Regions from separate parts of the Homo sapiens genome. Here regions 2, 3 and 4 are each linked to region 1. Evidence: promoter capture Hi-C in human tissues and cell types (Jung and others, 2019). All regions are on one chromosome and are shown on one strand. Each heading gives the region's core, a stretch centred on a gene start or on the middle of the fragment in contact. The rest is flanking DNA. Distances are from core to core; before and after follow the strand shown. Region 1 holds the start of CCDC125 (coiled-coil domain containing 125). Region 2 has its middle 15 kb from the start of SLC30A5. Region 3 overlaps SLC30A5 (solute carrier family 30 member 5). Region 4 has its middle 22 kb from the start of SNORA50D.

Evidence for each region. Contacts are between HindIII fragments. The study calls those that stand out against the background at their distance.
Region 2: a fragment that was not itself captured here is called in contact with the fragment with the promoter of CCDC125 in region 1 in 1 of the 25 tissues and cell types used here (spleen).
Region 3: a contact is called between a fragment that was not itself captured here and the fragment with the promoter of CCDC125 in region 1, in 4 of the 25 tissues and cell types used here (H1 embryonic stem cells, aorta, liver and 1 more).
Region 4: a contact is called between a fragment that was not itself captured here and the fragment with the promoter of CCDC125 in region 1, in 2 of the 25 tissues and cell types used here (aorta and heart right ventricle).

What each region holds. Positions count from the first base shown.
Region 1 is chr5:69,331,446-69,334,354 of GRCh38, reverse strand. It overlaps CCDC125 (coiled-coil domain containing 125), which reads left to right and starts at 1,554. Exons shown (of 12, transcript NM_176816.5): 1 at 1,554-1,706. It also overlaps the pseudogene CHCHD2P2. The HindIII fragment of the contact is 34,363 bases long and covers 1-2,909 here.
Region 2 is chr5:69,077,267-69,080,175 of GRCh38, reverse strand. No RefSeq gene overlaps it. Among named protein-coding and RNA genes, the nearest start is that of SLC30A5, 15 kb to the left of the region's middle. The HindIII fragment of the contact is 8,551 bases long and covers 1-2,909 here.
Region 3 is chr5:69,105,106-69,108,014 of GRCh38, reverse strand. All of the region lies in intron 4 of SLC30A5 (solute carrier family 30 member 5), which reads right to left. Among named protein-coding and RNA genes, the nearest start is that of SLC30A5, 13 kb to the right of the region's middle. The HindIII fragment of the contact is 3,959 bases long and covers 1-2,909 here.
Region 4 is chr5:69,137,784-69,140,692 of GRCh38, reverse strand. No RefSeq gene overlaps it. Among named protein-coding and RNA genes, the nearest start is that of SNORA50D, 22 kb to the left of the region's middle. The HindIII fragment of the contact is 6,104 bases long and covers 1-2,909 here.

The DNA of each region.
Region 1 (2,909 bases), core at 305-2,804:
TTCTTGATTAGGCCAATCCGTTTGCAAGTCGGCACTGTTTCAGCACCTCATTGAAACCCTCACAGAGCTTGATGTCACCCTGGTTCTGGGCACACTCCAGAAACTGATCTCATAGAAGCAAGGCTGCTGCTGCTGTGCCGGCTGGGTTCCCTGAGGCTCCTGGTAAGTGATGTCAGGCCTCGCAGGCTCAGCATTACTTCCTCCCCTGAAAGCCCCAGTAATGGCGTGACCCACAGCAGAGCCCACAGCCACGCCAGCTGCAGTGGTTGCCATCTGGGCCATCAGACCTGGCTGCCGGGGCGCAGCAGCAGAAGAGCCAACTACAGATGGGGGTGCCGCTGCTGGTGGCTGAACGACTGGTACTGGCCTGGGTGCAGCTCTCATCTGAGGGGGCCTGGCTGGCCGGAGGGGCCATGCGGGAGGTGCGGCTTCGGCTTCCACGCGGCATCCTAGGTACGCGACGGCTCGGCCTCCGGACGTGTGACGACCGGCTAAATTTTGTATTTTAGTGGAGATGGGGTTTCACCATGTTGGCCAGGCTGGTCTCAAACTTCTGACCTCAGGTGATCCACCCACCTTGGCCTCCCAAAGTGCTGGGTTAACAGGCGTGAGCCACCGCACCTGGCCCGATCTACCCTTCTCTTACAGGATTCCTAGAGACTTAATATTTTGGTTTTGGTTTGTTTCTTTTTTGAGACAGGGTCTCCACTCCGTCGCCCAGGCTGGAGTGCAGTGGTCACTGTAGCCTGGATCTCCCAGGCTCACGGGATCCTCCCACCTGACGGCCTCCCGGCCTCCTGAGTAGCTGGGACTACAGGTACGCACCACCACACCCGCTACTTTTTAATTATTTTTTTTTTTTGAGACGGAGACTCGTTCTGTTGCCCAGGCTGGAGTGCAGTGGCACGATCTTGGCTCACTGCAAGCTCCGCCTCCCGGGTTCACGCCATTCTGCCTCAGCCTCCTGCGCAGCTGGGACTACAGGCACCCGCCACCACGCCCGGCTAATTTCTTGTATTTTTAGTAGAGAAGGGTTTTCACTGTGTTAGCCAGGATGGTCTCAATCTCCTGACCTCGTGATCCACCCGCCTCGGCCACCTAAAGTGCTGGGATTACAGGCGTGAGCCACCGCGCCCAGCCCTACTTTTTAAATTTTTTGTAGAGCGGGGTCTCACTATGTTGGCCATGCTGGTCTCGAATTCCTGGCCTCAAGCGATCCTCCCGCCTTGGCCTCCCAAAAGCTGGGATTACAGGTGTGAAACCCCGCGCCGGTCTGAACCTCAATGTTTGAACCACCAAATTTTACCTGTATTGACACAGGCCCCGTCTTGTTGTTTTTCTAAATCTCATGTCATTGTTTGCATATTGGTTACCCGTGGTTGGCTTTGGAGCTGAAGGTGGACAGAGCTAACATCAGGTTGCACACAGGAACACAGTGAGGTCGCGAAAAAGTAGCGCGAGCTGCCTCCATGGCCCAGGGCGACCTCACCGGCGTTTCCTGTCTGGGACTGCGCCCACGCGGTCACGTGGTGGCCCGGAGGACGCGCGGCGGCAGCGGCGCACGCGCACGGAGAGGAGGCTACTTGCCAGGTGAGCGAGCTGAGTGGGGCGCCGGGGCGGTAGGAGGGTGCTGTTCGCTGAGCTGGAGTCCGGGCTCCGGTCCCCGCCACGGACCTTGAGAGGGTACCCGGGGTCAGACCTGGCAGGTGGGAACCGGGAGTGGGGAGGACCCAGGGCAGGGGCGGGATGCGCAGATTCGTGGAAACTCTGCAGGTTGTGGACAAACTGCCCAAATCCTTTTCCCTGAATGCCAGTTTAATGGCCTCGTCTGATAAGAAAAAAATAAGAAATAGATTTCAGAGACCCTATTTCTCTCTCTGCCTCTCCACCTGCTTTACTTTTTTTCTCTTCTGTTAATTTTGAGCCTTATAAAACTATAGCGCCAGTATCCTGGTTTGGATCCTGAAACAGAAAAAGACATTAGTGGAAAAAATAATAAAGGCTGTGGTTTAGTTAATAGCACGTACCCATGTTAATTTCTTAATTTCGACAAATTGTACACAAATGTTGACATTAGAGGAATTTGGGTAAAAGGTACACAGGAATTCTTAGTACTATCTTTGCAATTTACTGTACATCTAAAATTATTCTAAAATGAAAAGTTAAGAAACAAAATCCTAAAGCAAAGTGCAGCAGGCCATTGTTCACCAGGGAGGGCTCAAGTTAGTTCCTCTTTGTCATGGAGTTAGGCATGTTTGACCAACTTGTTTGCTAAGGCAGAGTTGTCAGGCTACTGAATGTAGATTCTTCTGTCCAAAGGTTTCCGGGCAGGAATCGGTTTTCTCTTTCGATTCTGTCAAATATCTTTGGAACACATGTTGTGCATAAGCAAACGAGACACACAAAGTCTCTGCATAAGGGAATATACAGTCAGTCTAGGTCAGGTAGGAAGTAAGCACTATTAAAAAGATTCAGTAAAACCTCCCAGAACTGGGAAGACTCAGATGTGGAAGAAATCACATCTGGTCCAAGGGAGTCAGGAAGGCTACTGGAGGGAGTGCTGTCCTGAACTGAGGGGGCTCTGAGAAGAAACAGCATTCCTGGGGTGAAGAATGGCACCAATAGAGGCTTGCAGGTGACCAAGCTGAGCTGAGGGAGGAGCCCTGGGAGCAAGTGCAGTTCCTCTTACGTGGAAGCGCAGAGTACATCCAGGGAGTACTGCCAGATGAAACTGGAGGTGAAAACTGTAGCTTTGTTGTAGAAAACAGGGTGACACTTCAGTTGGATACATTATTTTTATTTTTATTTTTTTGAAACGGAGTTTCGGCTGGGCGCAGTGGCTCACGCCTGTAATTCCAGCACTTTGGGAGACCGGTGAGCAGATCTCCTGAGGTCTGGAGGTCTAGACC
Region 2 (2,909 bases), core at 108-2,607, 250 kb after region 1:
ACATTGTGATCCACCCACCTTGGCCTCCCAAAGTGCTGGGATTACAGGGGTGAGCCACCACACCCGGCCAGTCCCCTCTGTTTTTAACCCTAGAAGGAAAGTAACTATGAAATGGCCAATTTACCTTTTGGTCTCTGTTTCTGTTTTCTTCGGCCCTTTTTGGCCTACAAAGCCAACCTCCTCTGCTCTGTCTACCAGAACACCCATTCTATTTCATACAGTGAGGTGTTGCCTGATTCTACAATCACAAATAAAAGCCAATTGGATTTTTAAACTAAATTTGTTGTAATTTTGTCTTTTTTTTGGTTTGTTCTGAGACGGAGTTTCACTCTGTCACCCAGGCTGGAGTGAAGTAGTGCGATCTCGGCTCACTGTAACCTCTGCTCCTGCCAGGTTCAAGCAATTCTCTTGCCTCAGCCTTCCAAGTAGCTGGGAATATAGGCACCTGCCACCACACTCGGCTAATTTTTGTATTTTTAGTAGATACGGGGTTTCACCAGGTTGGCCAGCCTGGTATCAAACTGACTTCAGGTTACCCACCTGCCTCGGCCTCTCAAAGTGCTAGGATTACAGGCCTGAGCCACTGTGCCCAGCCTGTAATTTTGTCTTTTGAAATAAATTAAAGTCAAACACCCTAATAGCAAATAGGCAAAGGAATGAACAGATAAGAGACAGTATAATTTAGCCTGAATGGCTACAGCCATATGAAAAGATGCTCAATCCTATTAGTAACAGGGAATTTCAAATGGAAACCACAGTGAAATACAATTCTGTATTCTTTGGATTGGCAACACTTTTGAAGTGTTATGACATCAAATGTGGTGTGGACCTTGCCCACTGCCTAGACAGAGCCGATTTCTCAAGACAGGGCAACTGCAATAGAGAAAGAGTAATTTAGGCAGAACTGGTTGTGCGAGAGACTGGAGTTTTATTATTAATTCAAATCTGTCTTCCTGAGCATTTGAGGAGCAGAGTTTTTAAGGACAACTTGGTGGGGGGAAGCCAGTAAGCCAGGAGTGCTGATTGGTCAAGGATGAAATCATAAGGAGTCAAAGCTGTCATCTGGAGCTGAGTCAGTTCCTGGGTGGGGGCCACAAGATCAGGTGAGCCAGTTTATTGATCTGGGTGGTGCCAGCTGATGCATCAAGTGCAGGGTCTGCAGAATATCTCAAGTACTGATCTTAGGAGCAGTTTAGGGAGGGTCAGAATCTTAGAATCTTGTAGCCTCCAGCTGCATGACTCCAAAACCATAATGTCTAATCTTGTGGCTAATGTTAGTCTTACAGAGGTAGTCTAGTCCCCAGGCAAGAAGGAGGTCTGCTTTGGGAAAGGGCTGTTATCGTCCTTGTTCCAAACTATAAACTATAAACTAAGTTTCTCCCAAAGTTTGTTCAGCTTATGCCCAGGAATGAACAAGGACAGCTTGGAGGTTAGAAGCAAGATGAAGTCGATTAAGTTAGATCTCTTTCACTGTCTCAGTCACAATTGTGCAAAGGTGGTTTCAGACATGAGAAAGGGAACTGACTTCTTTGGGAGAGCACATCATTAAAATTCCTTTGCAGAGCAATTTGGCATCATTTAGTAAAGTTGAAGATGCACAATTATTTGATAGCAATTTTACTCCAGGATGAACATCCTAGGGCAGTTGTTCTAAAGTGCGTTCTTCAGGCCAACAGCATCAACATCGCTTAAGGACTTGTTAGAAATGAATTAGAAACTCTGGGGGTGGGATTCAACGGTCTATTGTTTAATAAAACTCTCAGGTGATTCTGATGCTTTCTAAAATTTGAGGGCCACTGGCCTAGAGAAATACTTGCATATCAACACAAGGAGTCAGATTTGGGGTTCATTTTGGCATTGATGGTAATAGAACAGATGGGGTAACAATTTAAATGCTCATCAAGGCTGGGTGTGGTGGCTCACGCCTGTAATCCCAGCACTTTGGGAGGCCGAGGCGGAAGGATCACGAGGTCAGGAGATCAAGACCGTCCAGGCTAACATGGTGAAACTCCGTCTCTACTAAAAATGCAAAAAATTAGCTGGGTGTGGTGGCAGGTGCCTGTAGTCCCAGCTACTTGGGAGGCTGAGGCAGGAGAATGGCGTGAACCCGGGAGGCGGAGCTTGCAGTGAGCTGAGATCTCACTACTGCACTCCAGCCTGGGTGACAGAGCGAGACTCTGTCTCAAAAAAAAAAAAAATGCTCATCAGTATGATACACAATGAAAAATTACATATTCATATCGTGGAACACTATATAGCAGATAAAATGAGTGAATTAAAATTATGTGTATTAAGCTAAATAAATATTAAACTTGAGTGATAAGACTTAGGAATTTTCAGAAAGCAAACACACAAACACCCCCTTCCCGCCAAAGAAAACTTGAGTGGGAAAAATAAGCTTGGAAGGACATATACAGTATTATACAACTTCTGTAAAGTCAAAAATCATGCCAAACAATATTATCTTTTGTTAAGAAGTAGATACTTGTGTAGTAAAAGTATAAATACATAAAAGAGAATGACAAATGCTAAATTAAAGATATTGTACTGGGAATGTGATAGGGAGGGGAGTCTGTTGTGTTTAGAAATGTTTTATTTTAGACTGAGTGGGTGTTCATTATATTACCTAATGTATTCTCTTTCTTTCTTTTTTTTTTTTTTTTTGAGATGGAGTCTCGCTCTGTCATCCAGGCTGGAGTGCAGTGGCTCAATCTCGGCTCACTGCAAGCTCCGCCTCCCGGGTGCACGCCATTCTCCTGCCTCAGCCTCCCGAGTAGCTGCGACTACAGGTGCCCGCCACCACGCCTGGCTAATTTTTTGTATTTTTAGTAGCGATGGGGTTTCACCATGTTAGCCAGGATGGTCTCGATCTCCTGACCTCGTGATCTGCCCGTCTCGGCCTCCCAAAG
Region 3 (2,909 bases), core at 251-2,750, 230 kb after region 1:
CTCACACCTATAATCCAGCACTTTGGGAGCCCAAGGCAGGGGGATCACGAGGTCAAAAGATCGAGACCACTCTGGCCAACATGGTGAAACCCCATCTCTACTAAAAATACAAAAATTGGCTGGGCGTGGTGGCACATGCCTGTAATCCCAGCTACTCGGGAGGCTGAGGCAGGAGAATCACTTGAACTCGGGAGGTGGAGGTTGCAGTAAGCCAAGATCGGGCCACTGCATGCCAGCCTGGTGACACAGTGAGACTCCATCTCAAAAAAAAAAAAAAAAAGTACAGGCAACATATACCCATGTGCTGCATAACATTATTTTGGTCAATGGTAGACCACATATATACGATGGTGGTGCCATAAGATTATAATGGAGCTGAGAAATTCCAGTCACCTAGTGTTAATGCATTACTCATGTGTTTCTGGTGATGCTGGTGTAAACAAGCCTACTGCACTGCCAGTCATATAATACAGTACATACAATTATATACAGAACATAAGACTTGATAATGATAATAAATGACTATGCTACTGGTTTATGTATTTACTATACTATAAATTATTTTAGAATGTACTTTTGCTTGTTAAAAATAAAAGTAACTATATCCTTTGACTTCAAATAGTGGTGTCAAAAACAAAAAAAAAGTTAACTGTAAAATAGCTTCAGACAGGTCCTTCAGGAGGTACCCCAGAAGAAGGCATTGTTATAGGAGATGACAATTCCTTGCATGTTACTGCCCCTGAAAACTTTCTAGTGGGACAAGATGTGGAGGTAGAAGACAGTAATATTGATAATCCTGACCCTGTGTAGGTATAGGCTAATGTGTGCATGTCTTAGTTTTTAACAAAAAAGTGCCAGGAGCAGTGGCTCATGCCTGTAATCCCAGCACTTTGGGAGGGTGAGAAGGGTGGATCCTTGAGCCCAGGAGTTTGAGACCAGCCTGGGCCACATGGCAAAACCTGCTATCAAAAAAGATACAAAAGTTAGCCAGGTGTGGTGGTAGGCACCTGTAGTCCCAGCTACTGGTGAGGCTGAGGTGGGAGGATCCCTTGAGCCAAGGAGATGGAGGTTGCAGTGAGCCAAGACTGTGCCATATACTCTAGTCTGAATGACAGAGCAAGATCCTGTCTCCAAAAAAAAAAAGTTGAAAAAAAATTAAAAACAGAAAAAAAGCTTACAGAATAAGGATATAAAGAAAAAATATTTTTGTACAGTTGTACAATGTGTTTATGTTTTAAGCTGTTTTTACAAAAGAGTAAAGTATGCTAAGGTTAAGCTTCTACCTCCTGAGGTCAGGTGATCTCTTCCACCTCAGCCTTCTAGGTAGCTGGGATTACAGGCACGCAGCACCATGCCTGGCTAATTTTTTGTAGAGATGGGATTTTGCCATGTTGTCCAGGCTGGTCTCGAACTTCTGGGCTCAAGCTATCTGCCCACCTCGGCTTCCCAAAGTGCTGGGATTAAAATTTTTGCAATTGAGAAACTGCATAATGGTTTTAGTAGAAGAATGAGAGGGCAGTGTTGGTAGTGATAAGGTCAGGAGCTAGATGACTAAATAGGGAACCAAGTAAAGATGTAAGTACTTCCTCTTTCCCTCCTTATTGTAACACAAAAGGACAGTGATATAGTAACACAGGAACCAAAACATAATTTCATGAATAACAAATTTAAAATATTACAGATGATAAGCAATAGCAGCACTCAATCATATTCAAGCATACGGTGAAAAACCTCTTCCCAAGCTAGGAAATTCAGCTAGCTTTCTCAGCCCTCCAAGCTGCAGCTGCTACTGTGGCTAGAGATATGACATTTCCAATTATACCTACTCTGCATCTGACAAAGTACATGACAAACAAGTCAAAGGGATCCCAATCCAGAAGCTATTCTATTGGCCATGAGAGGGGAAAGGACTTTTCACAAAGCATTTCCACATTTCTCACCCTTCACTTTCCACTCTGTCTACCCCACTATTCTGAGTGAGATCCTTTAGAACAGTGGTCCCCAACCTTTTTGGCACCAGGGTCTGGTTTCCTGGAAGACAATTTTTCCAGACAGCAGTGGTGGGGGGATGTTTTAGGACATAACTGTTCCACCTCAGATCATCAGACATTAGATTCTCATAAGGAGCATGCAACCTAGATATCCCTCCCATGCACAGTTCACAACAGGGTTCCTGCTCCCATGAGAATCTAATGCCATTGCTGATCTGACAGGAGGTAGAGCTCACGCAGTAATGCTTGCTCCCCCGTGGCTCACCTCCTGCTCTGTGGCCTGGTTCCTAATGAGTTATGAACCCATACTGGTCTATAGCCAGGGGGTGGGGGATCTCTCTGCTTTAGAACATTCTTTTTTTTTTTGAGACGGAGTCTCGCTCTGTTGCCCAGCCTGCAGTGCAGTGGCGTGATCTCGGCTCACTGCAACCTTCGCCTCCTGAGTTCAAGTGATTTCTGGCTAATTTTTGTATATTTTTTAATAAAGGCGGGGTTTTGCTATGTTGGCTAGGGTGGTCTCCAACTCGTAACTTCAAATGATCCACCCCTTGGCCTCCCAAAGTGCTAGCATTACAGGCGTGAGCCACAGTGCTGGCCAAGAACATTCTTCATTTCACTCCTTACCTCTCATTCTCACGGCAAGGCATTTTTTCTTACACTTATTCACTAAGTAAAATCCTTTACAGATGGGGAAATGTTAAAAGAATGCTCATACACAGCTGCATGATACAATTCCTATCAATGGTCCCTAAGCATTTCCTCCTTAAACCAGTCCACTTGCAGAAAAAGACTAATCTATATAGATCTAGGGAAATATGAAATGGGAGTAGTTTACTTTATCCACCACGCATTTAATCTGATAATTGATATACTACTTCTGAGACATTTATTTATGAGAGTATTTGCAAAATTGTGCAA
Region 4 (2,909 bases), core at 146-2,645, 190 kb after region 1:
CTTGAGTAACATACCACAAACACAGGCAGCCAAAGCCAAAATGTACAAGTAGGATTACATCAAGTTAAAAAGCTTCTGCCGAGCAAAAGAAACAATCAACAAAGTGAAGAGAAACCCACAGAATGGGAGAAAATATTTGCAAACTATCCATTTGACAAAGGATTAATAACCAGAATATGTAAGGAGCTCAAACAACTCTATAGTAAAAAATCTAATAATCCGATTTAAAAATGGGCAAAAGAGCTGAATAGACATTTCTCAAAAGACATACAAATGGCAAACACATTTAGGAAAGGAGCTCAACAGCATTGAGCATCAGAGAAATGCAAATCAAAACTGCAATGAGATATCATCTCACTTCAGTTAAAATGGCTTCTATTGGCCAGACTCATGCCTGTAATCCCAGCACTTGGGAAGGCTGAGGCAGGCGGATCACTTGTGTTGAGGAGATCGAGACCAGTCTGGCCAACATGTCAAAACCCTGTCTCTACTAGTAATACAAAAATTAGCCAGGCGTGGTGGCACGCACCTGTAATCCCAGCTACTTGAGAGGCTGAGGCAGGAGAATTGCTGGAACCCAGGAGGCAGTGGCTGCAGTGAGTTCAGATCATGCCACTGCACTCCAGCTTGGGTGACAGAGCGAGACCCTGTCTCAAAAAGAAAAGAAAAGAAAAGAAAAGAAAAAAAAGGCTTATAGCCAGAAGACAGGCAATAACAAACACTGGCGAGGATGTGGAGAAAAGGGAACCCTTGTCCACTGTAGATGTGAATGTGAATTAGTACAACCACTATGGAGAACAGTTTGGAGGTTCATCAAAAAACTAAAAATAGAGCTCCCATATGATCCAGCAATTCCCCTGCTAGGTATATACCCAAAAGAAAGGCTGTCAGTATATTGAAGAGATATCTTCACTCTCATGTTTATTGTAGCACTATTTACAATAACCAAGATTTGGAAGCAACGTAAGTGTCCATCAACAGACCCAGAGAGCAATCAGTGAAGGCTGAAGTAGAATGACAAGGACGGTAGGCTCTAAGAGGGACGTCGCCAAGCAAAAAATAAATAAATAAAATTGGTAGCTGATGTATTGGAACAGGCTGAGAAGAAATTTATAAAACTAGGCAAATGATAAAAAACAAGGCCATGGCCGGGCGCGGTGGCTCACGCCTGTAATCCCAGCACTTTGGGAGGCCCAGGTGGGCGGATCACGAGGTCAGGAGATCGAGACCATCCTGGCCAACATGGTGAAACGCTGTCTCTACTAAAAATACAAAAATTAGCTGGGCGTGGTGGTGCATGCCTGTATTCCTAGCTACTCAGGAGGCTGAGGCAGGATAATCGCTTGAACCCAGGAGGCTGAGGTTGCAGTGAGCTGGGATCGCGCCACTGCACTCCAGCCTGGCAACAGAGTGAGACTCTGTCTCAAAAAAAAACAAAACAAAACAAACAAAAAACCAAAACCAAACAAACAAACAAAAAAAACAAGGCCATATTAAACCTGGAACAAACTAGAAGTTAATATGGAAAATGGAAATATAATCATAATATGTTACATAGGGCATTGTGGCAATTTATAGTCATAATGTTGGAAACACTGAATATTGGTTTTACAAAAGGTTATGATTTACATCAGAGAAATGCAAATTAAAACCAAATGGAGATACTATCTCACACTGGTCAGAATGGCTATTATTAAAAAGTCAAAAAATAACAGCTGTTGGCAAGGATGCAGAGAAAATTGAATGCTTATACACTGTTGATAGGAATGTAAATTTGTTAAATCCTGTGGAAAACAGTATGGAGATTTCTCAAATAACTAAAAATAAAACTATCATTCTACCCTGGAATCCTACTACTGGGTGTCTACCCAAAGGAACAGAAGTTGTTTTATCAAAAAGATGCCTGGCTTGGCTGGGCGAGGTGGCTCACGCCTATAATCCAAGCACTTTGGGAGGCCGAGGTGGGTGGATCACTTGAGGTCAGGAGTTCGAGACTAGCCTGGCCAACATGGTGAAACCTCGTCTCTACTAAAAATAAAAAAATTAGCTGGATATGGTGGTGCACGCCTGTAATCCCAGTTCTTTGGAAGGCTGAGGCAAAAGAATCGCTTGAACCTGGGAGGCAGAGTTTGCAGTGAGCTGAGATTGCGCTATTGCATTCCAGCCTGGGCTACAGAACGAGACTCTGTCTCCAAAAAAAAAAAAAAAAAGAAAAAAGAAGACATCTGGCTCATGCCTGTAATCCCAGCACTTTGGGAGGGCGAGGTGGGCAGATCATTTGAGGTCAAGAGCTCGAGACCAGCCTGACCGACATGGTGAAACCCCGTCTCTACTAAAAATAAAAACAAAACAAAACAAAACAAAACAAAAAAATTAGCCAGGCATGGTGCCTGTAATTCCAGCTACTTGGGAGGCTGAGGCAGGAGAATCTCTTGAACCCGAGAGGCAGAGGTTGCTGTGAGCCGAGATCATGCCACTGCATTACAGCCTGTGCGACAGAGAGAGACTGTCTCAAAAAAAAACCAACAAACAAAAAACTTAAAAAAAGAAGACACCTGAACTCATACGTTTATCGCAGCACTGTTTACTATAGCAAAGTCATGGAATCAATCTAGGTGCCCATCAACAGTGGATTGAATAAAGAAAATGTGGTACATATATACCATGAAATACTATGCAGCCATAAAAAAGAAGAATAATATCCTTTGAGCAACATGGATGGAGTTGAAGGCCATTATCCTAAGTGATCTAATGCAAGAATAGAAAACCAAATACTGCATGTTCTCACTTCTAAGTGGGAGCTAAACAATGAATACAAGTGAACGTAAAGAAAAACAGACACCGGGGATCACTAGATGGGGAGGGAGTGGGATGTGGGCTGAAGAACCACCTGTTGGGCACTATGCTTA